Regions from separate parts of the Homo sapiens genome. Here regions 2, 3 and 4 are each linked to region 1. Evidence: promoter capture Hi-C in 16 types of primary human blood cells and fetal thymus (Javierre and others, 2016). All regions are on one chromosome and are shown on one strand. The core of a region is centred on a gene start or on the middle of the fragment in contact, and the rest is flanking DNA. Distances in the headings are between cores, read along the strand shown. Region 1 holds the start of DLD (dihydrolipoamide dehydrogenase). Region 2 overlaps COG5 (component of oligomeric golgi complex 5). Region 3 overlaps NRCAM (neuronal cell adhesion molecule). Region 4 overlaps DUS4L-BCAP29 (DUS4L-BCAP29 readthrough).

What was found. Contacts are between HindIII fragments. The CHiCAGO score rates a contact against its expected background, and 5 or more counts as called.
Region 2: a contact is called between a fragment that was not itself captured here and the fragment with the promoter of DLD in region 1, in 4 of 17 cell types (naive CD8 T cells, activated CD4 T cells, erythroblasts and 1 more). The highest score is 6.1, in naive CD8 T cells.
Region 3: a contact is called between a fragment that was not itself captured here and the fragment with the promoter of DLD in region 1, in 2 of 17 cell types (M1 macrophages and M2 macrophages). The highest score is 6.8, in M1 macrophages.
Region 4: a contact is called between a fragment that was not itself captured here and the fragment with the promoter of DLD in region 1, in 1 of 17 cell types (erythroblasts). The highest score is 7.4, in erythroblasts.

What each region holds. Positions count from the first base shown.
Region 1 is chr7:107,889,926-107,892,625 of GRCh38, forward strand. DLD (dihydrolipoamide dehydrogenase) reads left to right here and starts at 1,258. Exons shown (of 14, transcript NM_000108.5): 1 at 1,258-1,364. The coding sequence starts at 1,326. RefSeq lists enhancers at 959-1,038, 996-1,678, 1,189-1,428 and a silencer at 1,489-1,598. The HindIII fragment of the contact is 5,175 bases long and covers 1-2,700 here.
Region 2 is chr7:107,465,053-107,467,752 of GRCh38, forward strand. All of the region lies in intron 6 of COG5 (component of oligomeric golgi complex 5), which reads right to left. Among named protein-coding and RNA genes, the nearest start is that of GPR22, 3.7 kb to the right of the region's middle. The HindIII fragment of the contact is 3,987 bases long and covers 1-2,700 here.
Region 3 is chr7:108,145,958-108,148,657 of GRCh38, forward strand. It overlaps NRCAM (neuronal cell adhesion molecule), which reads right to left. Exons shown (of 33, transcript NM_001037132.4): 33 at 1,692-2,700. Among named protein-coding and RNA genes, the nearest start is that of LAMB4, 17 kb to the left of the region's middle. The HindIII fragment of the contact is 2,194 bases long and covers 248-2,441 here.
Region 4 is chr7:107,603,448-107,606,147 of GRCh38, forward strand. All of the region lies in intron 11 of DUS4L-BCAP29 (DUS4L-BCAP29 readthrough), which reads left to right. The region is part of intron 6 of BCAP29 (B cell receptor associated protein 29); the gene reads left to right. It also overlaps the pseudogene LOC124901856. Among named protein-coding and RNA genes, the nearest start is that of BCAP29, 25 kb to the left of the region's middle. The HindIII fragment of the contact is 848 bases long and covers 999-1,846 here.

The DNA.
Region 1 (2,700 bases), core at 8-2,507:
TTTGTGCATATGGAGCAGTAACTCCTAGACCAGATGTCAAAGACTGCCATGAAGCTGGAGAGGAGACAATTCTCCCCATCTGTGTGGTGGAGGCTGCTCAATGTCCCCCAATTTCGCTTCATCTCATCTTGCTTATTAATACAATTTCAGTTAGGCACTCAGCTGACAGGACTATGTTTCACAGATCCCCTTGCAGCTAGGTGTGGCTTTGTAATCAGATGGAATGAGGGGATATGATTGTAGAAACTGGAGCAGCCATCTTGAATGAAAGATGCAAGGCAAGCTCTGATGATGGCAGAGTCACGAGATAAAAGGAGCCTGGGACCCTGTCACAGGACAGAGCTGCCAGCAATACCGTCTCTATAACAAACACTAAATTTAATTATTCATATCTAAATCTGAACATAGGCAGTAATTTCTAACCAGTGTTTAGCCCAGCACAAGGCCTGGGTGGTAGACTTCCAATAAATGTAGAATTAAGTTTATTCACACTATATAGACTTATTGCAAGGCAAGAATGAGACCTTAGACTTTCGTGCTCAATCTTGAAGACAATGTTTTTCAACCCTTTTCAACAGATTCTCTCTCAAAACCTAAAATCTCATCCACCATCCCACTCTCTTTTTACCAGGGAGATGTGTTTCTCAACTAAAGAAATAGAAGAAAGTGTGTTCTCTACGTATTGTCAGTTAGCTAATTAGAGCAGAATGCTGGTGATGCCAAAATCTGTAGCCCCATCCCTTATATGGCATTTGAGAGGAGCGAGTATAAAGCAGTAGATAATACCAAAGGTTTTGGCCTCAGGGCCGCAGTTATCTCTCCTTTGTGAGACCTTGGGGGCACTGTTTAACCTCTCTGGGTCTCATCCAAGAAATGGAAATACTAATAATACTCCATATGGTTGTTGCAAGGATGAAATGAGATGTCTGTAGGAAGTGCCGAGGAATGCCTAGCACAACCAAGAGCTTGTTGAACTTGTCACGCTTTACTGTCGATAATGTGCATTAAGCAAACGCTAGTTTTATTTGTTTATTTCATCTTCTAAGTATAAGAATACATTGTAGCTCGACATTTTGGCACCAGCCCCTAAAGCATTCCCACCACCACCCCCGCTGCGACAAAGCCCTGCGCTCCTTACGACAGCGTACGACGCCGAGCCTGACAGGAACGCCTCGTGCGGTAGAACCGCGCGGGCCAATCGCGCTGCTCCCGGGTGATGACGTAGGCTGCGCCTGTGCATGCGCAGGGAGGGGAGACCTTGGCGGAGCGGCGGAGGCGCCCAGCGGAGGTGAAAGTATTGGCGGAAAGGAAAATACAGCGGAAAAATGCAGAGCTGGAGTCGTGTGTACTGCTCCTTGGCCAAGGTGAGGGCCGAGTAGGTGAGGTCGTGTTGAGCCAGAGGCACGGAAGGTCCCGCTCAGTGGGTCCGGTACGCGGCTTAACCGTGTTGGGCTGGCGGAGGCGGGCGCCTGGGCCGCACCACCCCTGGCCCCGCCTCTGCACTGGCTCAGCCCGGCCCTGGGCTCCGAGGTGGCCGCTCATCCTGCAGCAGGCGAGGGACGGGGCTGGGCCCAGGCTGTGGCGAGTCCTTTCGGGTTGTGTGACGGCCGGCGGTCACACATGCCACACCCCCAAGCCTGGGCCGAGGGCCATCCCGGTCACACATAGGCCTCTACCTTGGAGGAAGTGTAAGCCACCCATGTCCCGTATAGTCTGGCTTTTTATACCATTTGCCTTTTTCTCATCCTAATTCTGATCCCTGAGTGGCCTAAGTTTATGCAGTGGGCAGGTAACCCTGGGGTCACTTCTTGAATGGTTTAGATCCAGTCAGCTCCAACAGATAGCCCTCGGAATTCCCCTAAGGTCTTGTCAGTGTTGGCAGCTTTCAACTGGTGTTCATTGCCATCTCTCACGACTTCCTGGAGGCTTAAATCTTTAATTGCAGCAGGTTATCAGAACAACTCTCCTTTTTAATCTGCTTACCAGATACAGCCAAATTGTGTGTATGTGGCACCGTGGCTGGGTACTATGTTAGTGGAGACCTTAAAAATAATATAGCGATCAAACCCTTTTGTTTCAGAGATGAGGAACCTGAGTTCTCAAAAGTTAATGTAACATTCTGCAAGTCATGCTTTTAGGGAGCGGCGGAGGTGGGACTGAAACTCAGGATTGTCAATCTGCTGCTTTTTGGGTTTGCTGTCCTGACCTCAAATGTTAAGAGTTGCCTTGGAATAGGAAACATCAGTGTAGGTTTTGTCACTGCCGCCCATTTTCCTGCTGTGAGCAGGGGTTATTTGCTTGCTTGCTTTCTGCCTCATTGCCCTTAGGAAATGGTAGCCGTCCACATATAGAGATTAGGGAGATTATGATGCAATTTGTCAAACTGTAGTAGCACCAGAACGTAAGTACATTACTTGGTGCATTTTCCTAAGTTACCTTGTCTAATTTGCTATTCCTAGTTGATGTCTCAGGAACATCTTCATAGATTGTTCTAAGTAAATACGGACTGTATATACACGCTAGCTTAGAGTTAGGAAACAAAAATTACAGGTAAAAAGATTATCATGTATAGATTATTCAAGTATTTAAGTTAGAACTTTCAGAGCTTTATTTATTTATTTATTTATTTATTTATTTTGAGACGGAGTCTCACTCTGACATCCAGGCTAGAGTGCAATGGCACTATCTCAGCTGACTGCA
Region 2 (2,700 bases), core at 100-2,599, 420 kb before region 1:
AGGGATATTCAGGGCTTATGGGGATTGTTTCTCCCAACACACTCCCATTCAACCTAATACCAGAGGTCCTAGGCAGTACAAGAAGGCAAGAATATAAGTAAGTCTCACATGTTTCAGGAAAAAGTAAACTATCTCTATTTGCAGACAATTGTCTATATAGAAAATACCATGGAATTCACACAAAAAACTCCCAAGACTAATATATGAATTTAGTAAAGTTGCAGGATATGAGTTCAATATGATCCTAATTACATATACTAACAATAAACAATTGGATTTTTTTAAAAAATTAGGTGCTACTTCAACAGTACTGAAGAAATAATTAAATACAAATCTAACAAAATATGTGCAGGATCTGTAGGCCAAGAACTACAAAATATTGACGAAATAAATGTAAAATGCCCTAAAAATAGTAGAGATACTATGTTCATAAGTTAGAAGACTCAATACTGTTAAGATGTCATTTCTTTCCAAACTGATCTACAGATTCTCTGCAATACCAATCAAAATAACAGCAGGACTTTTTATAGATATTGCACCCCTAAACAGAGATCAGAAGGTAGGAGTAACTGAAGAAACACTGCTGAATATACCTGGCAGAAAGACACCAGTGATTACAGTCTTTAAGAATTATTAATTAAACTCTTAAAATGCATTCATTTTCCCAAATGGATGACTCAAGTAGTATAGTGGATGTTACTGAGTTTATAGTAGAACTACAGCCTATAGTAAAACTCTGCCATTCTCAGGCTCTTTATATAAAGAATGGCAGCCTTCTTACAAAAATGTTATGTATCTAACTAGTATCAATAACAGAGCACTAGATTGTAGACAGTCAGCTATGTCCCCCAGCACAGCATAAGAGTCATAACAGCACAAAACAGGGGACTTGACACAGCTTTGTTAAATATGTAATCTAGTTGATCAATGGACTTGGCCTCAGGACACAAAATTAATTTGATTCTGCATAACTTAAGAGTAAGAGAATTATGCAAAGAAAAAAAGGAAGCAAGAGAAAAGAGAAATCAATGGGGTGATGGAGCACAAACATGGCTATTTGTGTAGTTCCTTGATGAAAATATAAGAGAAAAACATCAATAAAATCCATAATATTTAGGAAGGCAAAGAGGGATAGTAAGCAGTCAAAACAGTAAACCAGAAAACTGGACATGAAGGTAATAATTTGGACAAAGCCCCAAAGTAGACATGCCAACAGTTGTGCAACAGAGGGAGGATAAATTGTAATAATAGTCACAGGATCCAAAGTGTAGGTATGGATGGAAAAATGGCAAGAAATGCCATGTATTTACTTTTATAATGTATGTGATACTGGCAAATGACTTACAAACACAGTGTGAAAAATAAAAATGAAAAAAACGTAAATGCCCAATTTAGGTGAAGTAGGGAAGGATGGGAAAGAATGGCTTTGGATTTTCTATCTGTTAAGTGTATGCAATTCTGATGCATGTGCTTTATCAAATATAATCAGTATTCAGTTATTCTCATATAGAAAATGAATCACCAATGTTGTTGATTCTCTACGACTTCTGCTACTCCCCACTTGATGGAAGTTCAGCAGATGGTCCATTTCTATTTTTCTGATAAAGTATTTGTTGTGAAAGAAATGTAAAGTTGAGAAGCCAAATAAAATCTCTGAATTGGCATTAAAGCAAAATAAACCTTTTTTCTATGGGCTCCAGTATCAGAGAGAGTTCAAGGTTTACTACGCTAAGTATCCACTGAAAAAGGACCCTTGTCGCAATACAGCTTAAAACTGATTTTCAGCAATTAAAAATTGTTTGTACATAGATACCTTAAAATTGTTTCAAAGTACTTTCAGTTATGGTGAATTCCAATATTTCACAAAGCTGAGTTTTTATTTACAAACTCAGAGAATCTTCAAAACTGTGGCATCAGAACTAGCCACAAGCTGGGTAAGAATGATTTGATATGAATAGTACAATGTAAATATACAATAAATTACTCTGTCATAGTCACGGTTGTCAAAATTTAAGAAAACAAATACATAAAATTAGTTAGAGACTTCCCATAGGAGGAATTAAAACAGATATGCAATTAAAATATTTATAACTAAAAAGAAAAGCACGACTTTTAAAAAAGGATTTTAATTGAGCTGTATTTTGGGGTTAGAATCATATCTAGTGCTTAGTTATTATTAGGAAGTCAAACTGCTCTCCTAGGTTAGTATATAAAGGTTATATTAATTGCACAAAATATATTAAATGCACAAGTGTGAGTGTTACTACGGAAACAAGGATCTTCATAAATTGATAATCTGAAATTATTATTATTTTTTTTTTGAGACCTAGTCTCACCTTGTTGCCCAGGCTGGAGGGGTAGCGGTGCAATCGCAGCTCACTGCAATCTCTGCCACCCAGGTTCAAGCGATTCTCATTCCTCAACCTCGCGAGGAGCTGGACTAGAGGCTTGTGCCACCATGCCTAATTTTTGTATTTTTTGTAGAGACAGGGTTTCACCATGTTGGCCAGACTGGTCTCGAACTCCTGACCTCAAGTGATCCACCCGCCTCAGCCTCCCAAAGTGCTGGGATTACAGGTGAGAGCCACTGCACCCGGTCTGTAATTAATTTTTTTCATGAAAATAATATAATCTGATTCTCAATCAGTAGTTGAGATATTTGCATATTTGTTAAAAACAGGGGAAGTTGGAATTACCTTG
Region 3 (2,700 bases), core at 95-2,594, 260 kb after region 1:
TTTAGTGAAAAGAGCTGTGCTTAAACTGTGCTTTTTTGGGGGGTGCTATACCATCACAAAACATCAAACCATTGGCAGATAAAATAGCATACTCTGGAGAAGAGGGAGATGCCATTTTAATGACGTGCCTCTCCTCATCCCTACCGACTTGCAGCCGTGATAGGGATGCTTAGTAGGACCCAGGAGGCACACTCCTCCTTCCTCTCCCAATACCGAACCTCCCGGGCCACAATCATTAAGAGGAAGAAGCTTAACAAGGCTCACAGGGACACATGCTTCCTCCCTGGATGCTGTGGACTCGTCAGAGAAAGCTGCAAATCCCATTTTCCCCTGTTGCAGCAGGCAATCATTTTTTGCATGATCAGATCACAAGCTGATTATCAAAACTGGTTTGCACTGTGTCCAGAGGCCACTTTTTCCTGCAAGCAGGTTTCTCTCACACTGCATAGAGCAGGGGAGCCCTCTGGTGGTAATCTGTAGGAAAATTTCCTGAGCGGGAGGGATTTGCTTAATTTGGGTAAGAATTCTTCATATTCTTTTCCCTTGCCTCCATAAGCCTTTTCCAAAATTGCGGGGCGCGGTGGCTCATACCTCTAATCCCAGCACTTTGGGAGGCCAAGGTGGGTAGGTCACTTGAGGTCAAGAGTTTGAGACCAGCCTGGCCAACATGGCAAAACCCCTGTCTCTACTAAAAATACAAAAATTAGCCGGGCATGGTGGCACACACCTGTAATCCCAGTTACTTGGGAGGCTGAGACACGAGAATTGCTTGAACCAACCCAGGAGGCAGAGGCTGCAGTGAGTGCCTCTGCTCTCCAGCCTGGGTGAGAGAATGAGACTCTGTCTCAAAACAAAACAAAATCAGCCATTAGAGGTAAACCAGGCCTGTTGTAAGCCATCTGAACAAGAAAGTTCATACCATCAATGGACCAATGCTTTTTGGGGTCAAGATTGCATTTCTCCAGACCCTTTTTGCTAAAGAGCCCCAGGACTGATGATGAGGACAAAGCTATGGACTGTGAATTTGGCGGACGTTGTAGAGGGGAGGAGAGGCCCTGAAGTGCTGTTCTGAAGTGAGTGACAGACATGCCCTCCAGGTGGAAACACCAAGCTCTACATAGCACTTTAAGGTTCACTTATATAACATGTGATGCAAATCACCATGGAGGAGGGCAGCTCTGAGCCAGCAGGAGGTCTTGTCAGTGTGATGCTGGGACTAGGGGGCTGGAGAATAAGGGGCAGGTGGTGGAACATGGGAACACGCCAGGGCTTGGCTGTTTGCCAGAGGGTTTGAGAAGATTAGAAGCATGGGGGTGGAGAGAAGGGAGAGGGTGACATACATTCGATACCTGTAGTGTCCCTCTTCAGACAGGAGAGTTAAGAAATCTAAGTCGCCTGTGATTCGGGAGGGCAGAGTCCAGGCAAGCAGAAGAGAAGCGCCGGGCCCAGGCAGACACCAGGAGCCAGGCTTTGGGAAAGGAGGCACCACCTGATTTCTTGAACTTTTCTCAAAAGGCTGGGAATATCTAGTCCTGTTTTTCATTCAAATGTTTTTGATATGTCCTATTAGATCTGTTTTATATTTTGTTTTAATTTTCTCTGCATAGAACAGCCTTTTGAAAGTAAAAAATAAAATTTTTCACCATTTTAAAACATTAGGCAATATATGTTTGAAAAAGTTAAAAGTCACAAAGAGATCAAGACTGTTTAATAGTTACTTTTTTGAGGGAAATCCAGTCACATTTGCCTGTACCATTACATACACCATTACTTGGACATTCACACTCAATTGGGAACATAAATTACAAAAGAGAGAGGAACTTTTAAAACCACATTTAATTTTTAATACCAAATCTGTTGCACTATTACAGAAGTGACCCTTTCATGCACAGATAAATTTCGCATCTACCAGTATGGAAGAGGAAAAAATGTAGTTTTATTGTTCTCCCAAAATATTGGCAAATTTAAAGTAACTTTTAATCTTTGTGCTCTCTGATGCCAAGGCAAACCTGTTTTGTCTTTTTATATTTTCAAGAGACAGGTGGATCTGTGAAAAATGAATATAGAGACATGAAAGTATTTAGGGCCATCTTTACCTGGGATTACTTTAAATTATGCTTTACCTACATATATCAAACATGCCAGGTTACTAGGCCTACTGTGCCCCATAGGCAAAGCTCTGAAGATTTCATCGAAAAATCTGCTGTCAATACGTAGAAAAGTTCACTATTTCAGTTTCACAGCAAAAAAGGTGGGGGGAGGGGGGAACCCAATAGATATTTAAGTAGATGCTTTCCAATCCCATTCACTGCATTAATTAGCTTACCTCTTATACAGTACAACATAAACATTGCATGTTTATTTGTATGTAACACCTATAAGCATATAGCATCTACATTTTAAGTGTATTTACAAATTCAACAAAATATCTACATATAAAAAGCTTTACTTAAAATTAAACTTGATGCAAGTTATGAGAAACCAATTTATTGGCAAATGAAACTGAGCATTCCTTCAACCATAGGTTGTTATAGATTTTCATATTTGGAGGTAACCCATTTGATAGATATTGTTTATGAATACGATAGAATATATATTTACTTTTTAAACTGCAGATGTAATCCCTTGGACCGTTGGCCTTTTAAGCACTTGCCTGATTTCTTAGATTCTGAAATGTATCCATAACAATTTGCATACACG
Region 4 (2,700 bases), core at 173-2,672, 290 kb before region 1:
TCTTAGGGCTTGCCAATCTTGTAGTAAAGGTTGAATTAGCAGTATATGTCTTCTACATAAAGGAAAAGAGAAAACAGTAATTGGGGGAAATTTCTTGACCATGCCTTTCTTCTGTTTGTTCCTGCTTTCCTTTGTTCCTTCTTTGTTTCATCAGCAATTTTTTTTTTTTTTTTTTTTTGAGACAGAGTCTCACTGTCACCCAGGTGGGAGTGCAGTGGTGCAGTCTTGGCTTACTGCAACCTCGAACTCCTGGACTCAGGAGATCCTCCCGCCTCAGCCTCCTGAGTAGCTGGGACTACATGTGTGCACCACCATGCCCGCCTAATTTTTTTGATTTTTTGTAAAGACAGGGTCTCGCTTTGCTACTTAGTCTGGTCTTGAACTTCTGGCTTCAAGCCCTTCCTCCTCAGCCTCCAAAAACGCTGGGATTACAGGCATGAACTGCTGTGCCTGGGCCTCAGCAATTTTTAAAAGAACTTTTCAAGTAATTCAGTCGTTGTAAAGTCATTTAATGTGGAGCATAATTAACACTTTCCTTAAAAAGTGTGCCTCTTGAGGATAAAGCAAACTTTAAATAAATTTCTTAAAGCATATACTAACAATCAGAAACTGAGTGTAAAGACCTATTATGGGTACCTAAGTATTAGCAGCACGCAATAGAGATACTAGATTTGGACCAGGAAACAGAACCCTTAGTCCCCTACTTAAAATAATGATAATTCAACTCTCTTCCTGGATAAATGCTTTCATATCACCTTGACTTACGTTGAACAAAACTAAAATTACCTTTTGCAGACCAACTTTGATACCCTTGAAGATGTTAAGTTTTTTTTACTTTTTATTGCCAGTTAACATAGGGACCAGATAGTGAAAAATAGCTGAAGTGTTTTTCCAGAGAAATTGGAGATCAAGACAAGATAGAAAATTACAGGGGAATTGCTGATCTGTATACCCAAAACCCTAAATTCCTGCCTCTTCAGTGTTAAGAATAAGACATAAGCTTTGTATACAAGTTTAAAACCATATGATTTCCAGTTTCTTACAAATGAACCATATATTCATCTAAAAATAAATTCTAAGTTTACCCTAAGCATGTTTTACAGTTGTAAATTTTTGTGGACGTGAACTTAGTTATCTTTTACTTACAGTTATATCAAAGCCCCCAGCTTATTTTAAAATTATTAATGCTTAAAAACAGTTTGCTGTTTTTAGTCATTTTGTTGTTGTTGTTGTTGTTGTTTTTTTTTTTTTGCTTTGTTGCCTTTTAATGCACTTTTGTGATTTAAATAAGAAAAAAACATATTATTTGTTTTCATGTCTGGAAGTTTCTGTTTCTTTGACACCTTTGTCCCTTCTTGTATCAACTGAAAAAAAAAACTGCATTAAGAAAGAATAATATAGTTTATTTGATGGTTGTGCCAGTAGGCAATATATAATTAATAGTATTTTAATTATTTAAAGTAAATAAAACTCATGACCAATCCTTTTAGTTAGGTAAATAAAGGATTTATTAGTATTTATTAGTTCATCTCTGTGTTATCTTCACATATTGATGTTATTGTCAAAACAGAAAAAAGGGTTTGCTTGCTATCAGAGTACTTTTCTTGGACTAATATATAATGATGATATTGCATCCTGTTTGGTTCCCTGTTACATTCCCATTTAGTTGTGATGTTTCCCTTTCTTGTGAGCTTCTTATCTGTTATCAAGGCCTATACTCATAAACTATGTGTCTTTCAGTAACCAGGAGGAATAGCTATAGGGAAGATATTAAGACAGAAATTCAAAGATACCTTATATATTATTCACAGTACTAGCAAACATAACGATATCTACCCTGAGGAGAAGCTTTTATAATCTCCACAGAGGGACATTAAAGCAAGAGAAAACAGTTTGTTCTCAGAAGAGCTTGTAGTCCAGATGGTAAACCAAACATATGTCCATAAAGGGATTCATTTCCTCCCCAGTGTGAAACATGGGCTAGTCTACCAAAAACATGAGTGGAGAGTGCTAAATGCATACTGAATCAAGGAATGTTCCAGGTGTTAAAGATGTAATCAAGCACAATTCTCTAAATGTGTTGATGGACATAGAATGGCAGAAAAATGAGTGAAATGATACTACTGTTCTGAGTGAGAAGAGCAAAGCAAAAAGCAGAGTGGTCTGTTTGAAGTCGATGTGTCACACTAGGTGCAGTGAATGATTGTGCTGTATGGTTGAGGGGTCCATTGATGTAGCCCCTAAAAGATCGAAGGAGATAATTACTTTGAATGCCTTGGTGTTCTTTTCTACTGTCTTATTCCATACCTAGATATGCATGTTTACTACAATCCTTCATGGTAAATACTTTTCTAATGATATCAGCTTATGGCAGGTTCATGTTTATGGCCAAGTGAGTTACAAAAATTAAACTGTACAACTCTAGTTTTAAAACACTTTCAATTAGGAAAAAACACTAAACTATTAATAGTGGTTTTCCTTAGCATGTACAACAAATGACTTTTTCCTAGAGTTTAAATTATTTTCTACAATGAATTTCTTTTGCTTAATGAAAAAGATAGCTTTTTATTGTAAAAAGAATTTAAAAATAAAAATAAAAAACCTCTTCCAAATACCCAGGTAATCTAGGGCGGTAGTTTTTTGGCTTGAATTATCTAATTAATTGGCTGTATTCCAACTTTACTTTGTTGGTAGACCCTA